Regions from separate parts of the Homo sapiens genome. Here region 1 is linked to region 2. Evidence: promoter capture Hi-C in human tissues and cell types (Jung and others, 2019). All regions are on one chromosome and are shown on one strand. Each heading gives the region's core, a stretch centred on a gene start or on the middle of the fragment in contact. The rest is flanking DNA. Distances are from core to core; before and after follow the strand shown.

Evidence for each region. The method cuts DNA at HindIII sites, captures the fragments that hold promoters and counts their contacts. A contact is called where the count stands out against the background at its distance.
Region 1: a fragment that was not itself captured here is called in contact with the fragment with the promoter of PROKR2 in region 2 in 2 of the 25 tissues and cell types used here (H1 embryonic stem cells and IMR-90 fibroblasts).

What each region holds. Positions count from the first base shown.
Region 1 is chr20:5,459,918-5,464,781 of GRCh38, forward strand. It overlaps LOC107985411 (a long non-coding RNA gene), which reads right to left. Exons shown (of 3, transcript XR_001754485.1): 3 at 3,829-4,108. Among named protein-coding and RNA genes, the nearest start is that of LINC00658, 17 kb to the left of the region's middle. The HindIII fragment of the contact is 5,081 bases long and covers 814-4,864 here.
Region 2 is chr20:5,315,535-5,321,014 of GRCh38, forward strand. It overlaps PROKR2 (prokineticin receptor 2), which reads right to left and starts at 1,420. Exons shown (of 3, transcript NM_144773.4): 1 at 960-1,420. The HindIII fragment of the contact is 13,355 bases long and covers 1-5,480 here.

The DNA.
Region 1 (4,864 bases), core at 2,104-4,603, 150 kb after region 2:
GTATAAGGATGATGCTGGCCTCATAAAATGAGCTAGGGAGGAGTCCATCTTTTTCTGTTGTTTGGAATAGTTTCAGAAGGAATGGTACCAGCTCCTCTTTATACCTCTGGTAGAATTCGGCTGTGAATCCATCTGGTCCTGGGCTTTTTTTCATTGGTAGGCTACTAATTACTGCCTCAATTTCAGAACTTGTTATTGGTCTATTCAGGGACTCAACTTCTTGCTGGTTTAGTCTTGGGAGGGTGTATGTGTCCAGGAATTTATCCATTTCTTCTACATTTTCTAGTTTACTGGCTTAGAGGTGTTTATAGTATTCTCTGATGGTAGTTTGTATTTCTGTGGGATCAGTGGTGATATCCCCTTTATCATTTTTTATTGTGTCTATTTGATTTTCTCTCTTTTCTTCTTTACTAGTCTAGCTAGCGGTTCATCTATTTTGTTAATCTTCTCATAAAACCAGCTCCTGGATTGATTGATTTTTTGAAGGGTTTTTTGTGTCTCCATCTCCTTCAGTTCTGCTCTGATCTTAGTTTTTCTAGTCTTCTGCTAGCTTTTGAATTTGTTTGCTCTTGCTTCTCTAGTTCTTTTAATTGTGATGTTAGGGTATCGATTCTAGATCTTTCCAGCTTTCTGATGTGGGCATTTAGTGCTATAAATTTCCCTCTTAACACTGCTTTAGCTGTGTCCTAGAGATTCTGGTATGTTGTCTCTTTGTTCTCATTGGTTTCAAAGAACTTCTTTATTTCTGCCTTCATTTCATTATTTATCCAGTAGTCATTCAGGAGCAGTTGTTCAATTTCCATGTAGTAGTGTGGTTTTGAATGTGTTTCTTAATCCTGAGTTCTAATTTGATGCACTGTGGTCAGAGAGACTGTTATGATTTCTGTTCTTTTGCATTTGCTGAGGAGTGTTTTCCTTCCAATTATGTGGTCATTTTAGAATAAATGCTATGTGGCACTGAGAAGAATGTATATTCTGTTGATTTGGGGTGGAGAGTTCTGTAGATGTCTATTAGGTCCACTTGGTCCACAGCTGAGTTCAAGTCCTGAATATCCTTGTCAGTTTTCTGTCTTGTTGATCTGTCTAACATATTGGCAGTGGGATGTTAAAGTCTTCCACTATTATTGTGCGGAAGTCTAAGTCTCTTTGTAGGTCTCTGAAAACTTGTTTTATGAATCTGGTTGCATATATATTTAGGATAGTTAGCTCTTGTTGCATTGATCCCTTTACCATTATGTAATGCCCTTCTTTATCTTTTTTGATCGTTGTTGGTTTAAAGTCCATTTTATCAGAGACTAGGATTGCAACTCCTGCTTTTTTTAAATTTTCATTTGCTTGGTAAATATTCTCCATCCGTTTATTTTGAGCCTATGTGTGTCTTTGCATGTGAGTTGGGTCTCCTAAATACAGCACACCAATGGGTCTTGACTCTTTATCCAATTTTCCAGTCTGCGCCTTTTAATTGGGACATTTAGCCCATTTACATTTAAGGTTAATATTGTTATGTGTGAATTTGATCCTGTCATCATGACGCTAGCTGATTATTTTGCACATTCATTGATGCAGTTTCTTCATAGTGTCATTGGTCTTTATATTTTGGTGTGTTTCTGCAGTGGCTGGCACCAGTTTTTTCTTTCCATATTTAGTGCTTCCTTCAGGAGCTCTTGTAAGGCAGGCCTGGTGGTGACAAAATCCCTCAGCATTTGTTTGTCTGGAAAGGGTTTTAGTTCTCCTTTGCTTATAAAGCTTAGTTTGGCTGGATATGAAATTCTGGGTTGAAAATTCTTTTCTTTAAGAATGTTGAATATTGCCCCCCACTTTCTTCTGGCTTGTAGGGTTTCTGCCGAGAGATCCACTGTTAGTCTGATAGGCTTCCCTTTGTAGGTAACCTGACCTTTCTCTCTGGCTGCCCTTAACATTTTTTCCTTCATTTCAACCTTGGAGAATCTGACGATTATGTGTCTTGGGGTTGCTCTTCTCAAGGACCGTCCTAGTGATATTCTTTGTATTTCCTGAATTTGAATGTTGGCCTGTCTTGCTAGGTTGGGAAAGTTCTCCTGGATAATATCCTGAAGTGTGTCTTCCATTCTCCCTGTCACTTTCAGGAACTCCAATCAATCATAGGTTTGATCTTTTCACATAGTACTATATTTCTTGGAGGCTTTGTTTATTCCTTTTCGTTCCTTTTTCTCTAATCATGTCTTCATGCCTTATTTCAGTAAGTTGATCTTCAGTCTCTGATATCCTTTCTTCTGCTTGATCGATTCGGCTATTGATACTTGTGTATGCTTCACAAAGTTCTCATGCCATGTTTTTCAGCTCCATCAGGTCATTAATGTTCCTCTCTAAAGTGGTTATTCTACTTAGCAGTTCCTTTTACCAAGGTTCTTAGCTTCCTTGCATTGGTTAGGACATGATCCTTTAGCTCTGAGGAGTTTGTTATTACCCACCTTCTGAAGCCTGCTTCTGTCAATTCATCAATCTCATTCTCTGTCCAGTTTTGTGCCCTTGCTGGACAGGAGTTGCAATCATTTGAAGGACAAGAGGCATTCTGATTTTTGGAATTTTCAGCATTTTTGCACTGGTTTTTCCTCATCTTTCTAGATTTATCTACCTTTGATCTTTGAGACTGATGACCTTTTGATGGGGTTTTTGTGTGGGGGTCCTTTATGTTGATGTTGATGTTGTTGCTTTCTGTTTGTTAGTTTTTCTTCTAACAGTCAGGCCCCTCTTCTGCAGGTCTGCTGCAGTTTGCTAGAGGTCCACTCCAGACCCTGTTTGCCTGGGTATCACCAGTGGAGGCTGCAGAACAGCAAAGATAGCTGCCTGCTCCTTCCTCTGGAAGCTTTGTCCCACAGCCTGATGCCGGCTGTAGCTCTTCTGTATGAGGTGTCTGTCAACCCCTGTTGGGAGGTCTCTCTCAGTCAGTAGGCACGGGGATCAGGGACCCACTTGAGGAGGCAGTCTGTCCCCTAGCAGAGCTGGTGCACTATGCTGGGAGAATCCCTCTCATCAGGATCAGCTGCTCTCCTCAGAGCTGGCAGGCAGGAACGATTAAATCTGCTGAAGCTGCACCCACAGCCACCCGTTCCCTCAGGTGCTCTGTCCTAGGGAGATGGAGGTTTTGTCTGTAAGCCCCTGACTGGGGCTGTTACCTTTCCCCTGAGATGCCCTACCTAGTGAGGAGGAATCTAGAGAAGCAGTCTGGCCACAGCTGCTTTGCTGCAACCAGCCCAGACTTCCCAGCCTCCTTAGCACTGTCAGGGGAAAACCGCCTACTAAAGCCTCAGTGATGGCAGATGCCCCTCCCCACAGCAAGCTCAGTTGTCCCAGGTCGACCTCAGACTGCTGTGCTGGGAGCGAGAATTTCAAGCCAGTGGTTCTTAGCCTGCTGGGCTCCGTGGGAGTGGGACCCACTGAGCGAGACCACATGGCTCCCTGGCTTCAGCCCCCTTTCCAGAGCAGTGGACAGTTCTGTCTTGCTGGGGTTCCAGATGCCACTGGGATAGGAAAAACAAACTCCTGCAGCTAGCTTGGCGTCTGCCCAAACAGCCACTTGTGTTTTCTGCTTGAAATCCCAGGCCCTGTTGGTGTAGGCACACGAAGGAATCTCCTGATCTGCAGATTATACAAACCATGGGAAAAGTGTAGTAACCTGTCCCAGGTAGCACAGTCCCTCATGGCTTCCCTTGGCTTGAGGAGGGAGGTCCCCCAGCTCCTTGCACTTCCTGGGCAAAGTGACACCCCACCCTGCTTCTGCTCGCCTTCTGTGGGTTGGACCCACTGCCTAACCAGTCCCAGTGAGATGAACTGGGTACCTCAGTTGGAAATGCAGAAATCACCTGCCTTCTGCGTTGGTCTTTCTGGGAGCTGCAGACTGGAGCTGTTCCTATTGGGCCATCTTGGCCCCCTTCAGAAACCTGTATTTAAGAATACTTGTCAGAGTCTTTTCCATGAATTTCCATATAGAAGCAAATTTTGGTCTACAGCTGATTATGAACCTCTTTTTGAGAAGAATCAAAAAGTAAAACAATAATTGTCTGTGGATGGCAACAGTCTTAGATCAGCCATGGTTAAAGACACAATTGGCAAGAAAATTTGATTACTTCTGTAACAGAAAAAAATTTAACATAATAATTATAATTATTACTAATAACATACATTAAGACATCAGAATTATATGTATCTCATACAATTTTGGAAGACATATTAATAACACCCATAAAATATAATCCAAGGAAAGGCAAACACTGTTTCATATTTGACAAGGCTTTCTCTAGGATTTTAACATACCAAATAAACCCAATACGTCTCTCTTGGACTTTCAGGGACATTAATATCTAAAAGGTTAGTTTAAGGTCAAAAAGACTAAATTTAGAACTTGAAGCTTTGATTTTGAAAAGTTTGTCTAATATCAAAGGTTCAAAACACTTGATATCATAAAATAGGATGACAGATTACTGTAAACTAAGTCATTCACTTAGCCAAAGTGATAATTCACAAATTTACACTTCCCATTGCCCACCCCTCATGCCTTCCACCCTGAGATTTAACAATAGTGATGGTGGCAGGAGGCAGACAGGTACCTAGGTGGGAAGGGGTGGGTCCCTGGTGAGGCCCAACCTTCAAACCAGGGATGGCCTGAAGCCTGGAGGCCAAGCTGCCAGTTCCAGGTGGAGTCCCTGACTGGGAGTAAGAATTTCCTTGATGCCTTTCAGCCAGTTGATGGTGACTGGTTTTTTGGACCTACCCTTGAACCAATCAGCATGCACTTCCTCCCACTCATGGACCAATCAGCATGCACTTCCTCCATTCTGCACCTATAATAACCCCTAGACTCAGCAGGACTCAGACACACATTGGG
Region 2 (5,480 bases), core at 170-2,669:
CTGGAAACGACTCCACATGTGGGCGCCGCGGGATGCTGGGTAGCAAGGAGATGACCCAGCTGAACAATGCATTTGGTCCACTCCTGCGAGGGGAGGAGAACGCCGAGGGACAGGAACTGCGCGCCAGCAAAAGACACCCTAACCTGGGGTGCGCCCGCCAGCTGCTTTCCCAAGGTGAAAACCTCCAAGAGGCGAGATGCAAATCCCAGTGGCGTCCACACCCGGAGGTGTCTTCTCTCCAGGTCGCCCCTCCGTCTCATGCGACACCCCAATCCCCGCAGCCTCTGCTCAGCGTGGGACCAAGAATGGGGAGTCCTACCCCTCCTCGGCTTTCCAGCCCCCTAACCCAAGACAAGAGGGCGCGCGCCCGGGCTGGGACAGGTCCCAGCCGCATTTTCGTAGATTGCACTCCCCGCCCGGGAGCGACCCGTTCCAGCAGCCCCCTTCCCGCCCCATCAACGCGGCCGCACTGTCGGCGTCTAGAGGCGACATCCTGGCAAAGACAGGAATCAAGTCAGAAATTCAGGCTCTAGAAGCAAAGGCTGCGGTGCCTCCTGGCTGGAAGAAAACGGCGGGTGGGTGGAGGATGCGGTGCGCGGGAATTTCCCCACGGACGCTTGCTGTTTCCTGCTCACCTTTCAGGAAGGTGCCCCTCTACCTGCACCCTCCCCTGCAATTTGGAGCTCGTCCGCGAGCTCAGCTACCCGCTGGCTCCCTCTGCCCGCGCCCGCACACCACAGACTCCGCTTACCGTACCCTACCCGGTCCTAGAGGGCCCAGAGGGGATCTCCTGAAACCAACTCGCCTGCTTGGAGCCAGCCCCGACGCATATCTCGAGAGTGGCGGGAGGCAAAGCAGCCGGAATGCCCGAGAAAAAAGTGGGCGTCAGAGGCCCTTGTCCTAGCGACTCCCCCACCGCACCGACTGAGTCCCGGGACTGCAGGGATCTAAGCCCTTACCTGTCTCGGCGCCTCCTTTCTGTGCGCTCTGCTGCTCCGGAAGCCGGATCGAGAGTCACAGTGTGGTTGGGCGCAGGCGGGCCGCTCGGTTTTCACCTCGAGGACCCGGACTTGCACTTGCAGAGCCGCTGCGTGGGGGATGTCCCTCTTTTTTCCTCGCCCCGGCGGGCTCCTCCGGCGTGTCAGGGTCTCTGGGTTCCAGCTGGAGTTGGCGCTCCGGCCCCACAGCTCTTTCCAGCGTCTCGGACCTGTGCGCCCCGCCCCGCGCTGGACTCCGCCCCGGGGTCCCCGCCTGCCTCCTAGTCCAGGCCAAGGGTGGATGCCCAGCTCCCCCACCCCACCGCGTGCTCTCGGGCTGGTGCGTCCAGGGCGCGGGCACCGTAGCTCCGGCCGCGCTGACGCGAGTCCCCGGCAGCGGGGGCAGCCTCTCGCACGGATTTCAGCGCCTTCGCATCCCGTCTGAATCGGACCACACAGTAGCCGGGTTTCTACCGTGCGCTTGGGAACAGTGAGCACCGCCCTCTGCCGCCAGTCGTGGCACCGCACCCGGGTCGCGCGCGCAGGAGGGGAGAGTCCTGTCTTCCGGAGGTGCCCAGTGCCAGCGTCCGCGCCCACTAGAAGGTGACCCTTTCAAGGAAAGCCCGGCTCCGACGAGTGCGGTGTGGGCCTTTGGAGATGGCGGTGAAGGAGGAGGCCCCCAGGAGGAAGCTGGGGATGGGGACAGTTTGCTCTGCTCAAAGCCCCTGAAGTCCTCACCCAAACTTTGCGATGACCACCACTATCAGATTCCATGGCCGTATAAAGACAATCCCAGGAGTGCCTCAGCCCATCTGTCCGGAGAGTCTGGAGCCCTTCACTTTGCTTCTGACAGGTTCGAAATCCTCCCACGACCTTCCTGGTTAAACACAGGAACTGCCCATTCAAATGACTGGTGCCCAGGAAGCTCTGGGCATACAGGATTGAACCTGTGGCAGGACCCTGAAGGTCTAAAAAGGTGTTCCCCATCGTTAAACCCCAGCCAGCGGATTATTGGCAGGTGGGAACATGGACTCCACTTTGTCAGAGCTTCCCATTGTTTTCAAGAGAATCTGGAATTCGAGAACTTTAAAAATAGTCTTTGGGTTCGTTAAAGCAAAAATCTTGTTTTGGTCAAAGAGAACCTGTCTCAGACTGAACACAGTCCACAAGGCTGCCAATTAAAAATTTTTGGATAAATGAACTTCAAACTCCTTCAGGTTGTGACATTCTGTGATTCTGCTTTTCCCACCTTACCTGGAACCTGACCCCACTCTCCCTACCTCTTAGCATCTCTCCCGCATGATCAAAGGCAAGAGAGCCAGCTGTTTGCTTTCCTCCTGGGGAGGGGCTGCGATTGGGCAGGTGTTCTACATGCTCAGGGCAACTTCCAGATATGGAGGCAAAAAAGCTCTGTTGCTTGAGTGGGGGAGATGATGGGGTGGCCAGTTGTACGCCCTGGACACATTCTTTGCAATAGTGCATACTTACCAACTTCAGCTAGAGGCTTCTTCGCTCATGGACCATGCCTGCCCTATTCAATGGGGGCAAACAGACCCCTGGGACCATCTGCCCGCTGGTGCTTTCATGGAATCCTCTGAGATGAGTTAAGGCATGGTTGCTTCCACACAGATCTGGCGACCCACAGATGTCGCTGTAGTAACTCCAAGTCCTGACCACCCTCAGCAGAGTAGGAGCTTTTTCTGGGGATGGACATGTGGTCCCCAGGGAGACAGTGGGTGCTTAGAAAACAGTGCAACAGAGTGCTACGGGGAGTTGTCTTAGTTTAGGTTTCCCCCAAGGAGACTCCCAGACAAAGACCTGAGTGCAGGTAGTTTATTGGGAGCAGATCCCGGGAAGCACACACAGGGGGAGGGGAAGTGAGGCAGGGAAGGGAGAAGGGCCCATACACGATATGCTAACGAGCAGGGTGCCACTGCGGCTCACTCCAGTTGACCTGCAGACCGTGTAGAACATGCCTCATGGTTGTTCACAGCAGCGCGGGGAGGCTGGACATTCAGCCATCGATTCCTACCCCCTACTGATGGACAGATTCCCTGAGAGCCAGAATTTCCCTCACTTTTGAGTTGTGTCCCGGTGTGGTGCAGAAAGCCCAAGGCTGAAAAGAAGAGAGCTTCAGGCCTTGGATGGGAGGTGTCATGGTGCCTGGAACTGCATCTGCAGGTGAGCAGAGGAGATTCTGGGCAGGCCGTCACTCTCACATCTGCTACAGGAGGGCAGCAGAGGGGACATTGCCTTTGATGAGGCGGGCAGGAGCCATACTTCTGCTGGAGTTCATAGACTGAACTGGGTGTGAACCCAGAGAAACTGGGTGGGCTGAGTGGGATTTTGAGAGGGGCTGGAGACTTTGCATTATATACTTGGAGGCAACTTACATCCCCACTTGGGCTCACAAAGCTGGCAAGAACTGGGGAAATGGAGATGACTTCCCCTTCTAGTCAAAGAGATTTCTCTAATTGCAAGTCCAAAGTCTCTTCTTGTCTCTGAAAGAGTTTTCTGTCTGAAGTCTTTCTGGGTGAGGGAGGCTTAGCTGAACTACATGATAAAGTGCTGAGGGAGGGGAAAAGGGAAAGGGGAGGAAAGAAAATCCATGCAGGCAGGAGTTGCTGCAGAGCCTCAGGGGAGGCATTATCTACAAACAACTGGATGTGAGGAAAATGGATGAGGTAAGGATACTTTGATACAGAGCCAGAAGATTATATGTTTGAATCCACTCAAGAGACACGAATAATAAAAATTTAACAGGTATAATATTTCGACAACATTAAATCTGAATGTTTTTTGTTATTTCCCCCACGAATCCTATTCCATGGCAGCCACTCCACTAGTATAAATCCAGGAGATTGGAGTGGGTTAACACCGCCTCAGAATAACATCTCTCAAAGATACTCCCTAAAAGGGAGGGTTGAATTGTTGGGTCAGCCTGAGATTGCCAGATGGAACCACATTTAGGATCCCCTCTCCCACTGCACTACTCAGAATATGTGTCAGCGTGTGTATAAAGGGGACAGAGAACTCAGGGTGTGTCAGGTAAATTTGATTTTCAGGTAATTTCTTTTAAATTACTTTTACTATTTATTTATTTACTTATTTATTTTTTAGAGACAGGGTGTCAATCTGTCACCCAAGCTGGAGTGCAATAGAACAATCATAGCTCACTGCAGCCTCAAACTCTCAGGCTCAAGTGATCCTCCCACTTCAGGCTCCTGAGTAGCTGAGACTACAGTCTCGAGCCACTGCGCTTGACCCCAGATTTTTTTTTTATTTTTATTTTTACTTTTTGGGAACAGGGTCTCTCTCTGTCACCTAGGCTGGAGTGCCCTAGTGTGATTGTGGCTCACTGCATCCTGGACTTTCCAGACTCAAGCAGTCTTTCAGCTTTGGCCTCCCTAACAGTTGGAAATACAGGCGCCCAAAACCACGCCCAGCATTTTTTTTTTTAATTTTTAGAAAACAAAACAAAACAAAAACAAAAACAAGAAACGAAGTCTTGCCATGTTGCCCAGGCTGGTCTTGAACTCCTGGGCTCAAGCGATCTTCCTGCCTCAGCCTACCAAAATGCTGAGATTACAGGTGTGAATCACAGCACCTGGCCCCTAAATTACTTTTGACATTTGATTTATGTTTCTTGAAAGTGACTCCTTTCTAAGACAAAGCCACATGGATCTTCAGGTTTATAAAGGTTTTATATGTAAACTTTCTTAATTGTAAAGAAATGAATACAGATTCTCTGGAGCTTGATTTTCCAATACATATTAAAAAGCCTTGAGGCTAGGCAGAGTGGCTCATGCTTGTAATTCCAGCACTTTAGGAGGCCAAGGTGGAAAGATGGTTTGGGGCCAGGAGTTTGAGACCAGCCTGGGCAACCTAGTGAGACCCCGTTTCCACAAAATTTTTTTTTAAATTAGCTGGGCATGGTGGTAAATGCCTGTGGTCTCAACTACTTGGGAGGCAGAGGTGGAATCACTTGAGCCCAGAAGTTTGAGGCTGCAATGAGCTATGATCGTGTCACTGCACTCCAGCCTGGGCAACAGAGTAAGATCCTGTCTCAAAAAAAAAAAGGTCTTAAAAATATACCTCTCTTAATCTTTAATCCAGAAATTCTATTTTTATGACTTTATTCTATGGAGATAACGAATGAAGCAGGTAAAGATTTCTCTACAAGGATATTGATAGTAGTATTGTTTAGGATAACAAGAAATTGAAAACAACACTATTCTCAAGAAAATGACCTCAAGTGATTTTTGTGCGTGTCTGTGTGTCTCTCCAGGAGTAATTAATCAGCAAATCAAGAATGTGCCCTTGTTATTGACTGCAGATATATCGTTAGGTAAACTTTTTAACTTTGAAAGTAAATGTAATTAAACTCTACGAATCCTAGGTGGAAAAGGAGAAGCTTAATTAATGGTTCAAGGTGCATTGACCCTGGCACTACCTTTCCTTCCATCCAGCTGGCTTTCATGGGGTTCTGCAGAGTGACTCTGT